3 separate regions of the Homo sapiens genome follow, and regions 1 and 2 are each linked to region 3. Evidence: promoter capture Hi-C in 16 types of primary human blood cells and fetal thymus (Javierre and others, 2016). All regions are on one chromosome and are shown on one strand. Each heading gives the region's core, a stretch centred on a gene start or on the middle of the fragment in contact. The rest is flanking DNA. Distances are from core to core; before and after follow the strand shown.

Region 1 (2,700 bases), core at 146-2,645, 40 kb after region 3:
TGGTAAACATTTCTCTTTGGCCCTAAGACCAATTTTGAGACAATTACATTTTTATTTTACCAGGTGGTAAGGCAGTTAAGAGTGGGGACCTGCCAGCACCCATTCTTTTGTCCTACAGAGCATATAGCTGTGCTGTGTACAGAAAAGCCAATTGTAAATATTTGTCAAATTGAATTTCCAAGTCAGGGCATATTAATATACTCTGTTAATTATCACATTAAAACCTAAACAGGTGGTAAATTTAGATGAGATGCAGAGAAAAATGCAAAACCAGCTAAGAGCTCAAACGGACTAGGAAATACCTAAAAGATTGGGGAGAAAAGCAAAGGTTTGCTCAGAAGAGATGAACAGGAAGTTTTAGGAAACTTCAAATATCTAAAACACAGGGATGATTTCTTTGCACATACCTGGAAAACCAAATTAGGGGAAATCAACTTAAGGTGTAGAAGGAGCGATTTCGATACCAAGGCATTTGGAATGTACTCTTGAATAAAATTATGTTTTTTAATGTTTTCTTTCATATGCTGCTCTTTAAATGGTTCTGTGAAATAGCATGGAAGCAGAGTCATGGGTTCAGTGACACATTCAGTAGCCCTGGGCTGAAAGAACTGTGTAAGGCCCACTCCCCCACCCCACCCCACCAACCCTGCCAATCCACAAGAGCACTGATACCTTCTGAGAAGGGGCTCCTTCTCAATGGGGTTCATGCAGATTATACCTGGAATCAGGATTCTGAACAACTCCTTCATGAACCGCTCTGCTCATGACCCAGGTTGGGAAAGAGGCCCATCTGTCTGCTAGAATCAGCGGGAAACAGTGATGGTAAAGGCATGAGCCAAAGGTTCTGAAGGTGGGAAAATGTACACACACAAGACTCGCTGCCTGACTCCTTGGACAAAGACAGATGCTGGCTTGGTGTGATTTAAGGGACACCAAGATAATTCGCCAAATCTCTTTCCTATCAACAAGAAAAACAAGCAACGCAGTATAATGAAGAGAGGATTGTGCTAGGCCTGGGGAGGTCCGAGTCCAAATCTTGGTTCCATGTTATATTGATCTAGCTACTTCACCTTTCTGGGACTCAGTTTCCTCATAACAAGTTATTCTGAGGACTAAATGAGATCATGTATTAAGTACCTGGTACAATAGTAGCCACACAGTACACGCTCATTCTGTGGTAGCTTCTATTCTGCAACAGCAGGGACCTGCTTTTGACCTAAGCATTGTTAGGTTGTCACTATTGCCCTTCTGTAAATGAAAGTATAACAAGGAGTTGCTCTGCACACCCATAGATAAATACACAGGTAAGTTAACTTCTGTTGCTTGGAACTCAAAATCTTTTTTTTTTTTTTTTTGAGACGGAGTCTCGCTCTGTCGCCCAGGCTGGAGTGCAGTGGCGCGATCTCTGCTCACTGCAAGCTCCGCCTCCCAGGTTCACGCCATTCTCCTGCCTCAGCCTCCCGAGCAGCTGGGACTACAGGGAAACTCAAAATCTTAGTAGGAAAATCCTCAGCTTGCTTTGTCAACCTAGGAAAGGAAGTTCACCAGGAAAGTATAAAAGAGGGTGGTTCCCAGAAAATTAAATCACTTCAGCAGAATTTGAGGTATAAAATGAAGCACTGAAGAAAACGGATGCTTTTATTTCTCCATATAATGGAATTCAGAAGTTCTGCACATACATCGAAGAATATTTTAAGAATAACAATTATTCACCTGGACACTTCCAGACAAAACCAAAGGTTTGAATCCATGCTGGCATAGAAGACACAAGAAAGGGAAATCACAAATGACACAGTGGGAGCACAGGAGTCTCACTCTCAGCGGGCCTGTGGCCAGTGACATTCTTCAGTTTTCCTTGCCATTGTCTGCTGCCCAATCAGCTCTACTTGGTAGAAGGAGCTGGCCACTGGATCCAGATGGAGCTGCTGGGAATGAATGCCACACTGGGCAAGCAGGGCCCTGTGGTTCCATAGGGAGGCGAGAGTACCAGGACTGCTCAGTGGAGAAGATGGGCACAAATTGAAACAAACCAAACTGCTTGACTGAATGCTGCTGCCCAGAAATATAATTGAGGGAGGCTAGGATTGGAGTGGGAATCAGTGAACCTGGTTAGAGCTTTCTGGGGTAACTCAGAGGAAAAATTATGCAAAGTGAGTTGGGCAAATTAACTGTAGGAACTACCCTGATTTAGCAAGAGATAAGATAGGGAGGAGTCTAGAGCAGAGAATGGAAAAAACAGGCAAAGCAAGGCCCCGTGCACAGGGCCCAGGCTGCCTCACCCAGACAGCTTCAGGAACTTGGATAGGAATACTAGAGATAAAGCATATTCTAGTCCCCAGGACCTGGGGCCTCAGTTCGAAACCTTTCTCTGTCTCTTTTTTTGCATGTAAATATAAAACAATGGCTGGCCACTAATGGTTGTTTCTCCCCAAAGTAAAACACAGACAAAGAAAACAAAAAGTTCCACCAGCCAGACGTAAACTAATGATATATGTTCCAGGTAAGTGGTTATCTGCAAATCTGTCTTAGATCAAAGAATTCTCTCTCTCTTTTTTATTTTTGGTCTGTGAACAGGCAGGAAAAACTGGGGTTTCCCAGGCATGCACACTTACTTGCTGCTCAAAGAAACACTCAATCTGTTAGAACTTTTTGATGGCATGTGAGGCCTAGGGTGTGATTTCCATTATCTATTAAATGGTA
Region 2 (2,713 bases), core at 167-2,666, 60 kb after region 3:
TATCCAATTCACTATTGATGGGCACCTAGGTCGATTCCATGTCTTTGGAATTGTGAGTAGTGCAATGAATATGTGAGTACATGTGCCTTTTTTGTAGTACAATTTATTTTCCTTTGGGTGTATACCCATAATACAGTTGCTGGGTTGAATGGTAGTTCCGTTTTAAGTTGTTTGAGAAATCTCCACACTGCTTTCCACAGTGGCTGAACTAATTTACATTTCCACCAACAACGTATAAGCATTCCCTTTTCTCTGCAGGTTCACTAGCATCTGTTTTTTGACTTTTCAATAATGGCCATTGTGACTGGTGTGAGATGGTATTTCATTGTGGTTTTGATTTGCATTTCTCTGATGATTCATGATGTGGAGCATTTTTGCATACGTTTGTTGGCTGATTGTATGTCTTCTTTTGAGAAGTGTCTGTTCATGTCCTTTTCCCACTTTTTCATGGGTTTTTCTTTTGCTTGTTGAGTTGTTTAAGTTCCTTATAAATTCTGTATATCAGACCTTTGTCAGATACATAGTTTACAAACACTTTCTTCCATTCTTTAGGGTGCCTGTTTACTCTTTTGATAGTTTCTTTTGCTGTGCAGAAGCTCTTTAGTTTAATTAGGTCTCACTTGTCAATTTTGTTTTTGTCGCAATTGCTTATGACTTGGGCATAAATTCTTTCCCAAGACTGATGTCCAGAATGGTGCTCCTAGGATTTCTTCTGGGATTTTTATAATTTAAATATAATCTTATATTTAAATCTTTAACCCATCATTAATTAGTTTTTGCATATAGTTAAAGGTAGGAGTCCAGTTTCAATTTTCTGCATATGAAGCTATTCCAGTACCATTTGTTGAATAAGGAGTCCTTGTTTATTTTTGTTAACTTCATCAAAGATCAGAAGGTTATAGGTGTACGCCTTTATTTCTGGGTTCTCTATTCTGTTCCATTGGTCTTTGTATCTGTTTTTGTACCCAGTAGCATGCCATTTTGATTAATGTAGCCTTATAGTATAGCTGAAAGTCGGGGAATGTGATGCCTCCGGCTTTGTTGTTTTGGGGGTTTAGGATTGCTTTGGCTGTTTGGGCTCTTTTTTGGTTCCATATGAGTTTTAGAATAGTTTTTTCTAGTTTTGTGAAAATGACATTTGTAGTGTGATAGGAATAGCATTGAATCTGTAGATTGCTTTGGATAGTATTTGCCCATGTCTTTTAAAGCCCACTGGGTAACCATTATCTTTTATGACCATGAAAATCATTCAGATTTACTTACAGAGACACTGGCCTGGCAGATGCAAGTCTGTTTTCAGGCTGGAGTTTACCCTAATCCCAGGGAAATATCCCCTTGCACATGATTCAGCTCAAACCTCACTCATGTAACCCTCCATGCCCCTACCCCATGTTCCCTTCCCACTGTGCAGCTGATCGCGTTCTCCACCTCCAGCCTATAATGCTTCGTACAAACCTTTTTTAGTCCTTCTCACATCTGTATGAGTCAGGTCTCAGAAACCTCATACTGAAGAGTGTTTAAAACAGAGACTCTTTACAAAGAAGCAGAGTATAAGGAGACTACAAAAGTTAGTACATACCGCTGGGCAAATTAAGAGGAGCTCTATTACTATCCCTAGGCTGGAAAGGTAAGAGGAAGAAGTAGTTCTCAGAGCTTGGAGGGAGAAGAAGAGGGATGCTTCACAGGAACTGCAACCTTGAGTAGAGGAATGTAGCCAGTCTGGAGCAAACCCTCAGGAAAGGAGCCACTGGAAAAGCCCTGAGTTTGGCTCTTCCTCCCTCCTTCCAATTATCTGCTGGTGCTGGAGGGAACTCCAGCTGGAATCCAGGGTCAAGGGAGCCCTTTCCTGTGGTCCATACAGGGCAGCCTCCAAGGGAAGAAAGTGGACCTTTCCCTTGGAGGGACAAACCAAAGACTGGCCACAACAACGTACTGTCGTGATTGATTCGCAGGCATGCCAAGTGTCTGCTGCCTAAGAGATTCCCTTTAATTTTACAAAACACTAGAGCTCAAGGCTGCACCCTCTGTACTTCAGAATATCCAGAGCCACCCACCCACGCAGTCCTCTCCCTTCTCCTGAGGCGGTCCTTGCTACATCCTTCCTGGTTTCTACATCTTTCCTACTCTCTCATTAGCCCACTTCCTGGACATGCTGGACAACACCCTTCTTCCGTCCTATTTCTCAACTCAGCATAAATTCAAGGGTTATTGTATGTATCAGATTTCTAACTGAAGGATAGTGGGTAAAGGGGGATAAAAGGCAACACAGAGTGAGGAACAACTTCAAAACCCTTATTAGATACCTCTTTCATAAATATTCACAAACCATTCTCCACTATGAAGACTTTCTCAGCTATGTACCACCATCTTCTAGAAACCCAGGCTCCTTCCACAGACTTCTTTTTTCCCTCTATTGACAGCCTTCTAAAACCCTAAATTCTGTTCTACTCTTTTTTTGTCTAAACTTTATTATTTTAATATTTATATTTTAGCATAAAATTTTATATTTCAATATAAAATATTACATTAATATTAATATTAAAATAGTTTACTATTTTAATGCAATTGTCTTTAAAATCAAATTGGCAAGTTTTTTTAATGTTCTTTTTTAAAAACTTTTTCATTTCAATAGTTTTTTGGGGGAAAAGGGGTGTTTGGTTACACAAATAAGTTCTTTAGTGGTGATTTCTGAGATTTTGGTGCACCCATCACC
Region 3 (2,711 bases), core at 159-2,658:
CCTCCTAGTCAATCACTGAATCCAGCCTCTCCAGACTCAACAATCTGACTTAGGATCTCAGAATTCCAGGAAATACTAGGGATGGCTTGGCTGCCTCCTTGGTTATAGGTGAGGAAACAGGCGAATGGTGAAATGACTTAACCAAAGTTCCCAGAGCTGGCACATTTATAGCTGAGATCTCCCAATACTGTTGTCTTACTCCTGCACGCAAAAATTAGTGGATGTTTTGTTCTTTTTTTGTCTTTCAAAGGACTTGGTTTCATTGTTAAAAGAAACCTCACTGCAAGTTACCAAGCTGTCAAACCCTGAGGCGGGATGAGCCACTATTTTTCAAATCCGTGCACCAGTAGTGCTTCTGTGACATCACCCAACACAGAATATCTTAAAATCGATTTCAGGAATGGATCTCGTAACCAAAAAACAGCTTGTTCAGAAAGGGGCACCTATGCACGTAGCAGATGCCTTCTATCTGGTCTCCATCTTCTATCAGGTCTCCCTTTCTCTCTCTTTATTACTGCCCCCCACCTCTGGGAAACTGCCACACCCAGCCACTAAGACCAAGACTTTGCGCACTAAGACTGTGTCGACAGATAAGCAGAAAAGTACAGCACTAGTTTCATCTAGTGTTCTGCCCTGTGTTTCAGTTGAGAGAAATTTCACACATATACACAGACACAGACACACACACACATACTCTCTCTCTCTCTCTTCCTAAGAAATGAATATAGAGCAGCTAAAACCAGATAAGTTCTAGATCCCTGAGGCTTGAGACCCAAGCCTGAGACTGTTCTTAATTGGCCTCATTGACAGCAGATGCCCAGCTCCTCTGCCCCACTCTCTAGGATCCTGCACAGATGTGGCCAAATTCTTCCCCACCAAACCAGCTTTAGACTCTCCTGGGCCTGGCGATCCATGCCTTCTTCTTCACCCCTCTCCTGAAGATTCCTGTGACTATGGGTCTGGAAGCCCTTTCTGCCAAGACACCACTTTCCTCTTCTGGTCTCATTTGGTTTGTCTGACCCTTGGCTGGTTCTAATCCTTGGTGGATTCCTTCACATACTGCTCTAAGCTTGCCCTTTGACTGCATTACCTCGAGCCTTTCTACAAGGCACCAGCTCTATTTCCTGGCCAGAAGTAGAAATTCCCTCCCCCGCTGCGCAGAAGTCCCACTCACAGAATTCGGCTTCATTGCTTCTCTGCCTCTCCAGCTCCATTCCTCGAAGAGCAGAGATGACAAGATGTAGGTTCTGTGTATGCATCCATGTTCTCACTGATGGCTCAGCCAGCATCTCTAAAGTTTTTTTTAATGATTAAGGGCCTTTGGGTTCCCCTGTGGCACTTCCTTGGAGGTAAGGGCTCAGGTGAAGTTGTTCATTTGGCTGTTGATCCCAGGGGAGCACAGGGAATATGAAACAGGGAAGAGAGGAAAGCTAATAAAGAATGTGTTAAGAAGCTTTGGGCAATCAGGGCTTCCTCTAGCAGGAAACCCTTAGGAGACTGCAGAACATTCCTTGGAATGAGGGCAAGGACTTTGGATTATTTATCCAGCCAGGACTTTCCCTCTTTGGCCAAGGGTCATTCCTTGGGCAATAATTCCCTGGCACTTGCAGACTAACCTGTGTGCTTCCAAGCTCATTTCTTTTTTCTTTTTTCCTTTTGTCTTTTTTTTTTTTTGAGATGGAGTCTTGCACTGTTGCCCACGTTGGAGTGCAATGGTGCGATCTCGGCTCACTGCAACCTCTGCCTCCTGGGTTCAAGTGATTCTTCTGCCTCAGCCTCCTGAGTAGCTGGGATAACAGGTGCCCGCCACCACACCCAGCTAATTTGTTGTGTTTTTAGTAGAGATGGGGTTTCACTATATTGGCCAGGCTGGTCTTGAACTCCTGACCTTGTGATCCGCCTGCCTCGGCCTCCCAAAGTGCTGGGATTACAGGTGTGAGCCACCATACCCAGCCGCTTCCAAGCTCATTTCTATGGCTGAAGAATGCCCTCAGGCAGAGAGAAGCAGGAGGTTGTCTGTCTACACAGCATGTGACTACAGCCAAACTCTGGGGTGGCCAAGGGGACATGGGTTGGACACCAACAGCGTCTGCTACAAAAGTGGTTGTTGCCACCCCTCAGAATCCCCCTCTCTGTGTGATCTTCCAGATTCAATGTAATACGTACTGAATGCTGCCAAATATAATGTACCAGACTAGACTCAGGTAATCACAAAGATGTGTAAGACAGAGTTCTTCTCCACACAGAACTTTCAATTTGATGTAAGAGACAAACAGAAATAAAAGTCTTTATAGAAAAGTAAGTCTTTATAGAATAAAGAAGAATATGAGAAGGGCTGTATTAGAGCCATGAATCACTGGCTGTGAGAGCTGCGGGAAGATGAGATTAATTTTGACTAGAGGGAGAAGGCTATCAGGGCAGTTTTCCAAAGCTAAAATATTTTAAACATATGCTAAATCGACAGACATCCAATTCCCACCAAGAGCAAAAGAATAAACATTCTTTCGCAGGGCCCTAAAGCCAGAAAGCAGTGAAAGAATTAGAACCATTTTATCTCAATTCACAAAAGGAAATAAGTGACATCTTTCAGTATCACCCCATCTTCTAGATGCAACGTTTAAAACCAAGTCACAAGAGCAAGATGTTCTTCCTGCTCCACGTTCAACTATGCATTTGAAATCTGTTCTCATTTGTCGAAATGAGCAATTAAT

Evidence for each region. Contacts are between HindIII fragments. The CHiCAGO score rates a contact against its expected background, and 5 or more counts as called.
Region 1: a contact is called between a fragment that was not itself captured here and the fragment with the promoter of C5orf67 in region 3, in 2 of 17 cell types (naive B cells and total B cells). The highest score is 5.7, in naive B cells.
Region 2: a fragment that was not itself captured here is called in contact with the fragment with the promoter of C5orf67 in region 3 in 2 of 17 cell types (total B cells and naive B cells); the score reaches 6.1 in total B cells.

The regions. Positions count from the first base shown.
Region 1 is chr5:56,645,080-56,647,779 of GRCh38, forward strand. No RefSeq gene overlaps it. Among named protein-coding and RNA genes, the nearest start is that of C5orf67, 40 kb to the left of the region's middle. The HindIII fragment of the contact is 3,931 bases long and covers 1-2,700 here.
Region 2 is chr5:56,664,985-56,667,697 of GRCh38, forward strand. No RefSeq gene overlaps it. Among named protein-coding and RNA genes, the nearest start is that of C5orf67, 60 kb to the left of the region's middle. The HindIII fragment of the contact is 5,387 bases long and covers 1-2,713 here.
Region 3 is chr5:56,604,848-56,607,558 of GRCh38, forward strand. It overlaps C5orf67 (chromosome 5 putative open reading frame 67), which reads right to left and starts at 1,409. Exons shown (of 6, transcript NR_161255.1): 1 at 1,175-1,409. The HindIII fragment of the contact is 384 bases long and covers 1,068-1,451 here.